3 separate regions of the Homo sapiens genome follow, and all the other regions are linked to region 3. The links are contacts of gene promoters, found by promoter capture Hi-C in human tissues and cell types (Jung and others, 2019). All regions are on one chromosome and are shown on one strand. Each heading gives the region's core, a stretch centred on a gene start or on the middle of the fragment in contact. The rest is flanking DNA. Distances are from core to core; before and after follow the strand shown.

Evidence for each region. Contacts are between HindIII fragments. The study calls those that stand out against the background at their distance.
Region 1: the fragment with the promoter of FLYWCH1 here is called in contact with the fragment with the promoter of PTX4 in region 3 in 1 of the 25 tissues and cell types used here (spleen).
Region 2: the fragment with the promoter of CEMP1 here is called in contact with the fragment with the promoter of PTX4 in region 3 in 1 of the 25 tissues and cell types used here (dorsolateral prefrontal cortex).

The regions. Positions count from the first base shown.
Region 1 is chr16:2,910,464-2,913,939 of GRCh38, forward strand. It overlaps FLYWCH1 (FLYWCH-type zinc finger 1), which reads left to right and starts at 1,468. Exons shown (of 10, transcript NM_001308068.2): 1 at 1,468-1,691. RefSeq lists silencers at 1,219-1,278, 1,329-1,638, 1,659-1,808, 1,839-1,938, 1,912-2,101. The HindIII fragment of the contact is 21,473 bases long and covers 1-3,119 here.
Region 2 is chr16:2,529,949-2,533,427 of GRCh38, forward strand. It overlaps CEMP1 (cementum protein 1), which reads right to left and starts at 1,460. Exons shown (of 1, transcript NM_001048212.3): 1 at 87-1,460. The coding sequence starts at 1,125. The coding sequence ends at 382. It overlaps AMDHD2 (amidohydrolase domain containing 2), which reads left to right. Exons shown (of 11, transcript NM_001330449.2): 11 at 1-1,469. MIR3178 (microRNA 3178) reads right to left here and starts at 2,057; the gene lies at 1,974-2,057. RefSeq lists enhancers at 1,863-1,912, 2,691-3,392, 2,693-2,742. The HindIII fragment of the contact is 25,225 bases long and covers 1-3,479 here.
Region 3 is chr16:1,486,908-1,490,206 of GRCh38, forward strand. It overlaps PTX4 (pentraxin 4), which reads right to left and starts at 2,037. Exons shown (of 3, transcript NM_001328608.2): 1 at 1,862-2,037; 2 at 409-1,063. The coding sequence starts at 2,002. The HindIII fragment of the contact is 5,905 bases long and covers 1,406-3,299 here.

The DNA.
Region 1 (3,476 bases), core at 218-2,717, 1.4 Mb after region 3:
TGATCTCAAACTCCTGGGCTCAAACGATGCTCCTGTCTCAGCCTCCCAAAGTGCTGGGATTACAAGCAAGAGTCACTGTACCCGGCCAACATGGATGAACTTTGAAAGTGCTATGCTAAGGCTAGGCGAAAGAAGTCAGTCACAAGAGACCACATATTTGTTGCATGATTTCATTTATATGAAATATGCAGAATACGCAAATCTATAAAGACAGAAAATAGATCATATTACTTAGGGCTGGGGTGATTAGCAAATTGGAGGGTGGTGGCTAAAGGTTTCTTCTTGGAGTGATGAAAGGTTTTAAAACTGACTATGGTGCTGTTTGCACAACTCTCTGACTATACTACATATCATTTAATTGTACACTTTAAATGGGAGAAATGCATGGTATGTGAATTATATTTCAATAAAGATCTTACCAAAAAATAGTAAGCTGATTGTGTTAACATAGTTTTATGAAAAAGTACAATATTTTCCCAAAGAAATTTAGTGAGACGAGTGACATAGTTATACATTTTTGCAAATATCTTTGTTGCGGGCTTAAAAGAAGACTACTGGCTCTCATACCTGCTTCTACATTCAATGTGTTACATCACACGTCATGCAGACTTTGTAATACTATGTAATATTTCTGCTTTTTTTTTTTTAGACACAGTCTCACTCTGTCGCCCAGGCTGGAGTGCAGTGGCGCCGTCTCGGCTCACTGCAACCTCCGCCTCCCGGGTTCAAGTTATTCTCCTGCCTCAGCCTCCCGAGTAGCTGGGATTACAGGCGCCCAGTACCACGCCCGACTAATGTTCGTATTTTTAGTAGAAACGGGGTTTCACCATGTTGGCCACGCTGTTCTCGAACTCCTGACCTCAGGTGATCCACCCGCCTCGGCCTCCCAAAGTGCTGGGATTACAGGCGTGAGCCACCGCGCCCGGCCCAGGTATTTTTTTGTCGTTGTTGGCTTTCTGATGTAAGAAACAACTGTCCCTTCTCCCCCGTTGACTTATTTCCTTCAGTTTGGACTCATATCGTAGTCAAGGTTATAATCCGTTGCTATCGCTGTTTATTTGAATCTCACACTGGTTCCGCTCTGGGGTAGGGTCACTGGGGGCGTCAATGAGATGCATGAGAATCGCCTTCCCACGGGGTCAGGAAACTGACAGGCCCAAGAGTGCATCTCAGCAAACGCTCCGTTTCCTGCGGGCAGCCTCAGATACTGGGGACCGTCCTGGGGTCTCAATTAAGCGCCCCCTACCCCAGCCCCTTTACGCCAAGAGCGTCCTGTTCAGCTCCCCCATCCTAGCTCCGCCCCTGGACGCCGCCGTCCAATCTCGGGATGGCCCCGCCTTTTCCGTGAGTTACGTCCCCGCCCCCATGCGCTGACAGGCCAGGCCTGCGGCTCGGCGCCGCGCAGGGAAGACCCGGAGCAGCGGTTTACCTAAGGAACGGGCCGCGCGGTCTTGCTGCGCATGCTCTGAAGTAGCGCGCCTGAGCGTTCCGCAAGGCCGGCTCCCCGGCGGGGTCGCGCGCGCGGTCACGGGGCTCGCTCCCGAGGGGCAGGTCGGGGCTGGGAGCTGGTGCCCGGGTCGGGGTGGCGGCGGCGGCCTGGGTCGCGGGGTCGACGCTCGCTGCTGCAGCGGCAGAGGCTGAAGGATCCGCCGCGGCGCTGTCGCGGGAGAGGGAGGGCCCCGCTGCCGTCGGTGAGGACAGGCCCCTGCGGGCGGGGAATGTCCCGCGTCCCCGGCGTGGACGCGCCCGCAGCCCGGCTCTCCCGGGGGTCCCGAGGGTTGCGGGTGCTGGGGAGGGGTCTGCGTCCCGGCGCTCAGGCCGCCTCCTGTGGGGTCTCCCGCGATTCCCTCCTTGCTCCTCGCCCCTCCATCCCCACCCCCCCGTCCCCTGGCCTAAGCCCGACACCCCCACATCAAGGATCCCCGCACTCGTCCGCCGTTTCCTGGCGGTGTCTGCCCCGCCCAGCGCTGCCTTCCTGGACCCGCAGCATCAGCCCCGTCCCACGGTTGCAGCTCGGGCGGTCCCAGTGACCTTGCACTTTTGCGGGTCGGGACGCACCCCGCTCCCGCTTCTGACCCTATAGATCTCCGGTGACGGCTTTCGAACTTTGTTGACCCACAGCCGACACTGAGAAATGCCTTTTACGCGTGTACTCTGTGCCTGTGGGTCTGGATGACTGAAGCACAAGTTTAAAGGGAGACGCTTGTTTAAGCTCACATGACGCAGCTGGATCTGTTCGGATTAAATTCCGTTCCATTCTCTTCCACCCCGTTCCAAAAGGCTGCTGCTAACCCATGGAGCCTGCACATAACGGGTCTGACGTAGTTGAAACCCTCGCTCTAAACCCTGCCTGTTGTTCCTTTATTCCTTGTACTGGAAGCTGAACTCCCATAGTCAGATAATCATGTGCAAACTCCAATTCCAACGAAATGGCTTATTTTTATTTGCATATTTCTGCTTTCCAAGGGCCAATATGATTTCCAGGGCTTGATCTAGATTTTCTCGTGTGATTATATCATGTTTCTCTTGTTCCTTTCCCAAGTGCTACTGGCGGGACGTGTGGAAGGAACAAGGCTGAGGTTGGGGCTAGATTGCGGAGTGTTTATGACGCCCAGCTGATGATGCACTAAGGCTGGAGATGGAGATGATTTAATTGGGGAGAGACATGCTGAAAGTTAAGCTTTAGGAAGAGTGACCTGTCAGCACCCTATGTGGAGAATTGGAGTGGCTGCTTGCCAAAGCTGGCAAGATCGTTCAGAGGCTTTGGCTTGGGCTAAAGAGGTCGTGGTAAGGGATCATGTCCTGAGTTGGTGGGAGTGGGAAGGAGAGGGAAGATGGGTATATCAGGCATAGAGGGAGAGAGATTTGAGGATGCATTAGGCTGTGGGAAGGAGTAAATAAACTTATATTATGATGGAGGGTGACTGGGGAATACCGGGCTGGGGGGGTCTCATTGGCCAAGCTCTCCCTTTCTGTGCGCTCTAATTTCTAAGTTGCTTTGGAGCTGTGGCTCTTGGGCAATTCTGCACCCCAGGGAACGTTCTGCAGTGTTGGTGGTCACAACGTGTGGTAGGGCATGACAGTGGGATCTGGCAGGTAGAGACCGGGGTTGCTGCTGAACACCCCACGCTGAACAGGACAGCCTCCCACAGCAGAATCATCCGGCCCAAAATGCCAACGGTGCTGAGATTGTGAAGTTCATTTTTAGAGTAAATTTTAATTATCTGGGCATCTCTGCCACCTTCAACCTCTTCAGGAGGAATGTCTGTGTGCACCCACTGAGCCTGTGATGTCACCATAGTGGTTCATGTCTGAGGCAAGTGCACCTCCAACGCTCATGGTTCAGTTGCGGGTAGGTGGGAGGTGGGTAGACACTGGAGTCATCCAGGAGCTTTAAAAAAAAATTTTTTTAGTAGAAATGGTGGGGGCGAGGGGCAGGTCTCACTATGTTGCCTAGGCTGGTCTCGAACTCCTGG
Region 2 (3,479 bases), core at 210-2,709, 1.0 Mb after region 3:
TGGCTGGTGCCATGGGGTGAAGCCACCATGGGCTGGGGGTGAAGAGCCGGCAGGAAGGGGACCAGTCACAGGGAGTGTGGACAGTCAGGGGTTTGCTTTCTGCTCCTGAGTTGGGGTGTGCAGCGTGGAGCCCACAGCCTGGTTCTGGGCCAGGGCACAGTGCCAGGGGCTCCGCTCTGACCTCCAGGAGGGAGACTGGGCCCGGGACCCCTGTTTTCTGCTCCCTGGACTGCCTAGCCCTGAGTGCCACGGATGACCAGCGTTCTGTTTTCTCTTCTCAATAACCCTATCTCTTCACACATCCCCAGGCCCAGTGCTTGCCGGCTGTGGTGACCCTGCCTGGTGCTGGAGGGCAGTATGGGAGGCACCAGTGTGCCCTGCTCACCCCATTAGTGTCATCCTGCCATCTTCTGTGTCCCCTTGGCCCTGGCACACACCCATGTGGCAAACACGGGCCGTGAGGCTCCCTGAACAGCTTCGAGGCGGGTGGGCTTCTGGAGCCCTCTTGGCTCTGAGGACAGCCACAGTGGGGTCAGACGTCAGGGATTGGTGCAGCCCCACGTCAGGGGTGATTGTCTTGACTTTCTCTCCATTTGAGTTCTGGGGTGGGTGGCTCCCTTCCCCCTTGCTTACAGGTGCTGTCCTGGGCACAGGAGGTACGCGCCTGGCTCTGCCACTGTTCTCTTCCCTCTGCTGCAAAGCCCAGTTAAGGAAATGTCTCCAGGTCCAAAGAGATAGGATGGTCTGGGCCCCACCTGTTGGAAGGGAACAGCCAGGGAAGAACCACCTGCCTGGGCAGGGCCTCGCCTGAGGGAGGGCCTGGGGCAGGGCACAAGGGGTTGATCTCAGCCCACAAGCCCCAGGGGCAGCCCAGGAAAGCAGGCGACGGATGTGGATCCTGACCTCCTGAGAGGTGTGAGGTGCAGGGATACCCACCTCTGCCTTGACGGCCGCGCACCCCTTAGGAAGTGGCTGTCCAGCGCCTGCCTGTGCTGGGCCTGGGAGAGGAGCTGTCTTGCCAGGGCTCCCAGGCAGGGAGAGGCAGGTGAGGTTCTCAGCCGATGTGTTAGAGGTTGAGCATCGCCTGTGCCCAGCTTGCTGGCTGTCAGTGCTTGATGTGCCCATCCTCAGCTAAAACCCAGAGCTGGCATGTTGGTCATCCCCACCTCAGACGGGACGCCCAGTCCAGAGCTGGTGAGCCCTGGGCCAGCCTTTGGGCCTGGCCTGCCCCATTCACCGGCCAGCGCCCCACCTCCCTGGCTGGAGGGTCGGGGAGGGGCTGGCAGAGATGGTTGGTCCACAGGGCTAGCCCTGGGTGGTGGGAGAGGGGCCCAGGGTCAGGGTGAGAGAGAGCTGGGCCAGGGAGCTGCTGCAGGATGATTTTGAGGTGTGGGGGAAGCACTCTTGGTTGGTTTTGGTTTGCTTTTTAAAAATTGTGGTAAAATACATAACAAAAGTAACTATCGTAACCTGAGCAGTTCTGTGACATGAAGTGAATTCACTGCTTTGTGTGACCTTGGCCACCATCATTCCCCACCACTCACTCCCGCTGGGCTCCCAGCCCTGCCCCACCATTCCGCTCCCTCTACAGCTATGGGTTTTACAAAGAAGGATGCAGGGCGCCCTGACTGCGGGGTGAGGGGCAGGCCTGCCCGCGGTGTGGGCATTCGCTGAAGGGGGACGCCCAGGTGTCTGCCTGAGTTACGGGTTGGGGGGTCGGGCATGTGGGGAGGGATGGAGTTGGAGGTGCATGCTCTCAGAGCTGGTAGGGGTGGCCCGTTTCGTCCCGTGTGTGAACTGGAGATGAGACCCGGCGCCTGCGATCCCGCAGACCGCGCCCGGCCGGGTGTCACTTGTGGGCGCACGCTGCCGGGATGCTGGGCCGAGCCCGCGGTTTAAGACCCAGATCTCAGCCAGGTCCCTTTCGCCGTCCGAGCCTCTGCACCTCGTGGGCTCCGAGCACATCCAGGCCAGAGACTGCGTTTGGGGCGTGGGCACGGGAGACCGTCATCAGCCAGGACGCTCTCGACCGATCCGGCCGCGCCCCGCCCAGCCTCGTAGCGCAGGCGCTGAGTCCAGGCTGACGCGCAACTCTGGGAGCGTTGCGGCACGCGGGGCCTTGCCTACTGTGGGAGGGGCTTCTGGGGGCGGGCTTCTGTCGGGCCAATTAGGATCGCCGCAGGGAAGGCACGCGCCGCGGCTGAGCAACAGGGGCGCGCGTCACCTTCTCTAGTTAACCCGCGCGGCCCCGGGCACAGAGCCCGAGGCTGCGCGGTCCCCGGCGGGCCCGCGGACCCCCCCCATCTCTGCGCCCCCCACATCTCTGCGGACCCCGCCTCGCCCCAGCCCTCCCATCCACAACCCTCACAACCTTGCATACCCCGCTACGCTCCCCACCGCGCCCTCACATTCCTGCAGACCCCGTCTCCCCACAACGCTCCCCGCCAACGCTGCGGAGCTCCGCGTCGCCCCAGCGCTCCCTGCCAAGCCCCCCACACCCCTGTAGACCCCGCCTCGCCCCAACCCTCCGAGCTGCTCCCCTTATACCCTTGCGGACCTAGTTTGTTTCGTCCCAGTCCTCCCCGTCGCGTCTCCCACATCCCTGCGGACCTCCCCGCGCCTCGCCTCTCCCTTCTGTTACGTATCACGCACAGGTGGATCCCACTACGACCCAGCTTGGCTCCTGTCCCGCACCTCCGCACCTGGCCTCTAGCCCCGCCCTCACTGTCTTGGGAAATGAAGCGGAGGGGTGGGCCGGACACTCTAGAAGCACCCTGGCTCGGAGCTTCCCTAGCTCGGAGTTGGTTTGGAGCCCAGGCTAGGGACCCAGGGTGGGCGCAGCAGGGGAGATTGGCACCAGAAGCGTGGAGGAAGGGCACCTCTTCAGCCCGGCTTTTCCGCCCCTGGAGTCTGGGACAGCTCCGGAGCGTCCGGGTACTCCCTCCCAGACTGGCCCTGTTCCTTTTATCACATTTATGTCACACACGTTTTTTCTAAATGGGTTTACACTTTTGCTATTACTTTGCAGTTCGGTTTGTGTGTGTGTGACGGAGCCTGGCTGTGTTGCGCAGGCTGGAGTGCAGTGGTGCGATCTCTGCTCACTGCAGCTTCCGCCTCCCGGGTTCAAGCGATTCTCCGCCTCAGCCCCCTTAGTAGCTGGGATTACAGGCGCACGCCACCACACCTGACTAATTTTTTTGTATTTTTGGTAGAGACAGGGTTTCACTATGTTGGCCAGGCTGGTCTTGAATTCCTGACCTCAATTGATTCGCCCGCCTAGGCCTCTGAAAGTGCTGGGATTACAGGCGTGAGCCACTGTGCCCAGCCTTTTTTTTTTTTTTTTTTTAACACGGAGTCTCATTCTGTTGCCCAGCCCGGCGCGATCCTGGCTCACTGCAACCTCAGCCTCCTGGGTTCAAGTGATTCTCCTGCCTCAGCCTTCCCAGTAGCTGGGATTACAGGCATGCACCAACACGCCC
Region 3 (3,299 bases), core at 787-3,286:
AGCGCAGGTTTAGTGTTTCACATTTCTGGCGGTCACAAGGCCAACACGGTCTCCCAGGGCTCAAATCAGGTGTGGACAGGGCTGGTTCCTCTGGAGGCTCCAGGAGAAACCATCTCCCGCCCTTTCCAGCTTCCAGAGGCGCCTGCACCCTTCGGCGTGGGGCCTCCTCGTCTGTGCATCCCGCCACCTCTGCTTCTGCCCTCACGCCCTCCTCTGACTGTGTTCCTCCTGCCTCCCCTTAGAAAGCCTCTGTGATGACGGTGGGCCACCCCCCCCGATGATCCGAGACCCTCTCCCCATCTCCCGGCCCCTAACTGAACCTCTTTTGAGAAGCCTTTTCCAGGGGGCCTGGTCTAAGGAGGAGCTGGAGGGAAGCCTGGCCGTGAGCTGGGAGCCTGTGGTACTTACTCTCTCCTGGCACCTGGGGGGACCATGCCTGCTGCCGAGGGTCTTTTGGGGCAGTCCCACTGAGTACCCGATGGCTGCCTGAGGCTGGAGGCTCCCGCCTCCCTTGGAGAGGGGCCGAGGAGTCCTGTGGGGGGCCCCTGTGCTCAGAGGCAGCTCGGAGCTCCTGCCTGTCCCTCTGAAGCTTCAGGGAGGTCGGGCCCAGCTCCTCAGGCTGGGTTGGGGTTGGGACCAGGGCCGGCCCGAGGGCTGCAGTGCCAGGGTGGGCCACGGGCAGCCGCCCCTCCAGAGCAGCCAGCCTGGCGCCCTGGCTGTGGACGAGGCCCTCCAGGCGTGCCAGTGAGTCCTGCAGGGCGTCCCTCTGGGCCTTGTGTGCCTTCCTTTCCCGGGCCCGCTGCTGGCTCCTCTCGCCCAGGGTGAGGTCCAAGGCCCGCAGCCGCGTGTCTACTTTCCGGCCTCGGCGCTGCAGCTTCCTCACCCAGGCCTTGAGCTGCGCCAGCTCCCCCTGCACCGAGGCCTGTGACCGGTTGACTGCCTGAGCCACAGCCTGGCTCTCTTCCGCCAGGCTCCGGAACCGGACGTCAACGTTGTAGGACACGTTGTAGTTGCTGGCGATGTTCTGCAGGTGTGTCCAGGTCACCTCCTGGAATCTCCGGAACTGTAAGGAGGACACGGTGATGATGGGGCGGGCCGGGCCGGGCCGGCTGGGCGGGACGGGAAAGGCTTTGCCCTCTCAAGTTGGGAGCAGCGGCCGCGTGCCCGGGCCACGGCCAGCACTGGCTATCTGCCCACCGATTTGATCCCCACTGCGATGCCGTGAGATGTGGTGGGTGCCAGGGACTGACCCCAGGCCATGCAGCTGCACCACGTGGGGTGTGGACTCCAGGCCCACAGCTGGGGCTCTGATCCCCACCGCTCACCCCATAACCACCGGCAAGTCACTTTCCCTCGTGATTCCAGCTCCTGCCTGTGAGCAGGGGACGGCAGGGTGGCCTCATGAGTGCTTTACGAGGCCCAAACAGGAAGCACCCAGCGCAGGCCCGACAGGCCCACAGCACTCCGGAACTGTCCGTGGACCCCGCGTGGGAGTCCGGGAGGCCGTTCACACCGACTGCCACAAGGTGGACCTGTGACCTCCCAGTTTCCACTCCCCATGACACTACCCGGCCCCCATGGCCCCCAGTTCCCCTGACTCCCTTCCAGACCCCCTTCTAGCCTCTGGCCCCACCTGACCCCCACATGTTATGAGGCTTGTGTCCTGTGTGAGTGGAGCCCAGCTCAGCTCTTCCCTGGTGTCCAACTGCAGGTGAAATAATCTTCATGGATGGAAAGAGCGTCACACGCGGTGTTCGTGTCCGCCAAGCCCTGATGTTTACCAATCTGCTTCTGTAACATCCGTCTTCCATCTGCTGCCAATTTAAAAACCCGACTGCGCCATGTCAGGGGTATAACTTGCCTGTTCCTCCAGCCTACGGAGCCTCTCGAAAAACGGTTTCCTGGGCCCCACTGGGGCGGCTTCCTGCGATGAAGCCCCATGTAGATATATAGGCACAAAAACAAGGAAGAAAGACAAGGTCTTCCTCCACGAGCAACCCATCCGGAGAGACGGCAAGGCCCCAGCAGTCTCCCTCCAGCCGCAGGAGAGGGTGAAGGTGGCTCCGTGGGTCTGTCTTGTGTCTCGTCCCCCCAGCTCTCCTGTTGAGTGGTTTTCCTTCTTTGGCCCTGGCTGGATGTCAGGTTCTTCCTGCCGCCTCCATGAAAGGCATCTGCCTTCAAGCCAGTGGGCTCTGAGACTTGCAGGTTCCTAAGGAGACAAGCTTAAAACAGATGCAAACAGTTTCTTTGAAGAATCATTCAGCTGGGTGCAAGCCCGCGGGCAGGAGGCGATGGCTTTAACAGGAGCACATGGACTTGTGCTCCCGAGAAGTCGAAGCAAGACAGGGAACCCGACGGGGGCTGGGGAGTCAACAGAGCCAGGTCTGCACAGGCACCCATCACCCAGGCCGTGCACGGCTGCATCCTGGGAGGCCCCGTCTCTCTCAGTAAAGCAATGGAAATGTGACTGGGAGCCACCTTAATTAATTAATTATTATTATTATTTGAGATGGAGTCTCGTTCTGTTGCCTAGGCTAGAGTGCAATGGCGCAATCTCAGCTCACTGCAACCTCTGCCTCCCCGGCTCAAGCGATTCTCCTTCCTCAGCCTCCTGCCTCCTGAGGAGCTGGGATTACAGGCGTGCTTTACCATGCCCGGCTAATTTTAGTATTTTTAGTAGAGATGGGGTTTCACTATGTTGGTCAGGCTGGTCTCAAACTTCTGACCTCATGATTTGCCTGCCTCAGCCTCCCTAAGTGTTCGGATTACAGGCATGAGCCACTGCGCCTGGCCAATTAATTAATTTTTTTGACGGAGTCTTGCTCTGTCACCCAGGCTGGAGTGCAGTGGTGCGATCTCCGCTCACCACAAGCTCCGCCTCCTGGGTTTAACGGATTCTCCTGTCTCAGCCTCCCAAGTAGCTGGGATTACAGGTATGTGCCCCCACATCCGGCTAATTTTTGTATTTTTAGTAGAGACGGGGTTTCACCATGTGGGCCAGGCTGGTCTCAAACTCCCGACCTCAGGTGATCCACCCGCTGTAGCCTCCCGAAATGCTGGGATTACAGGCATGAGCCACCGCGCCCGGCCAATTTTTGTATTTGTAGTAGAGACGGGGTTGCCCCATGTGGGCCAGGCTGGTATTTTTGGTTACAGGTTGTGTACTGGCTTGAATGAGACCCTCCTAAAAACACACATAAGCCCCAGGCAGGGCCTTATGTGGAAAAGGTCTCTGCGGATGTCATGAAGGATTTTGAGATGAGACCATCCTGGATTATCCAGGTGGCCCTAAAGCCAAT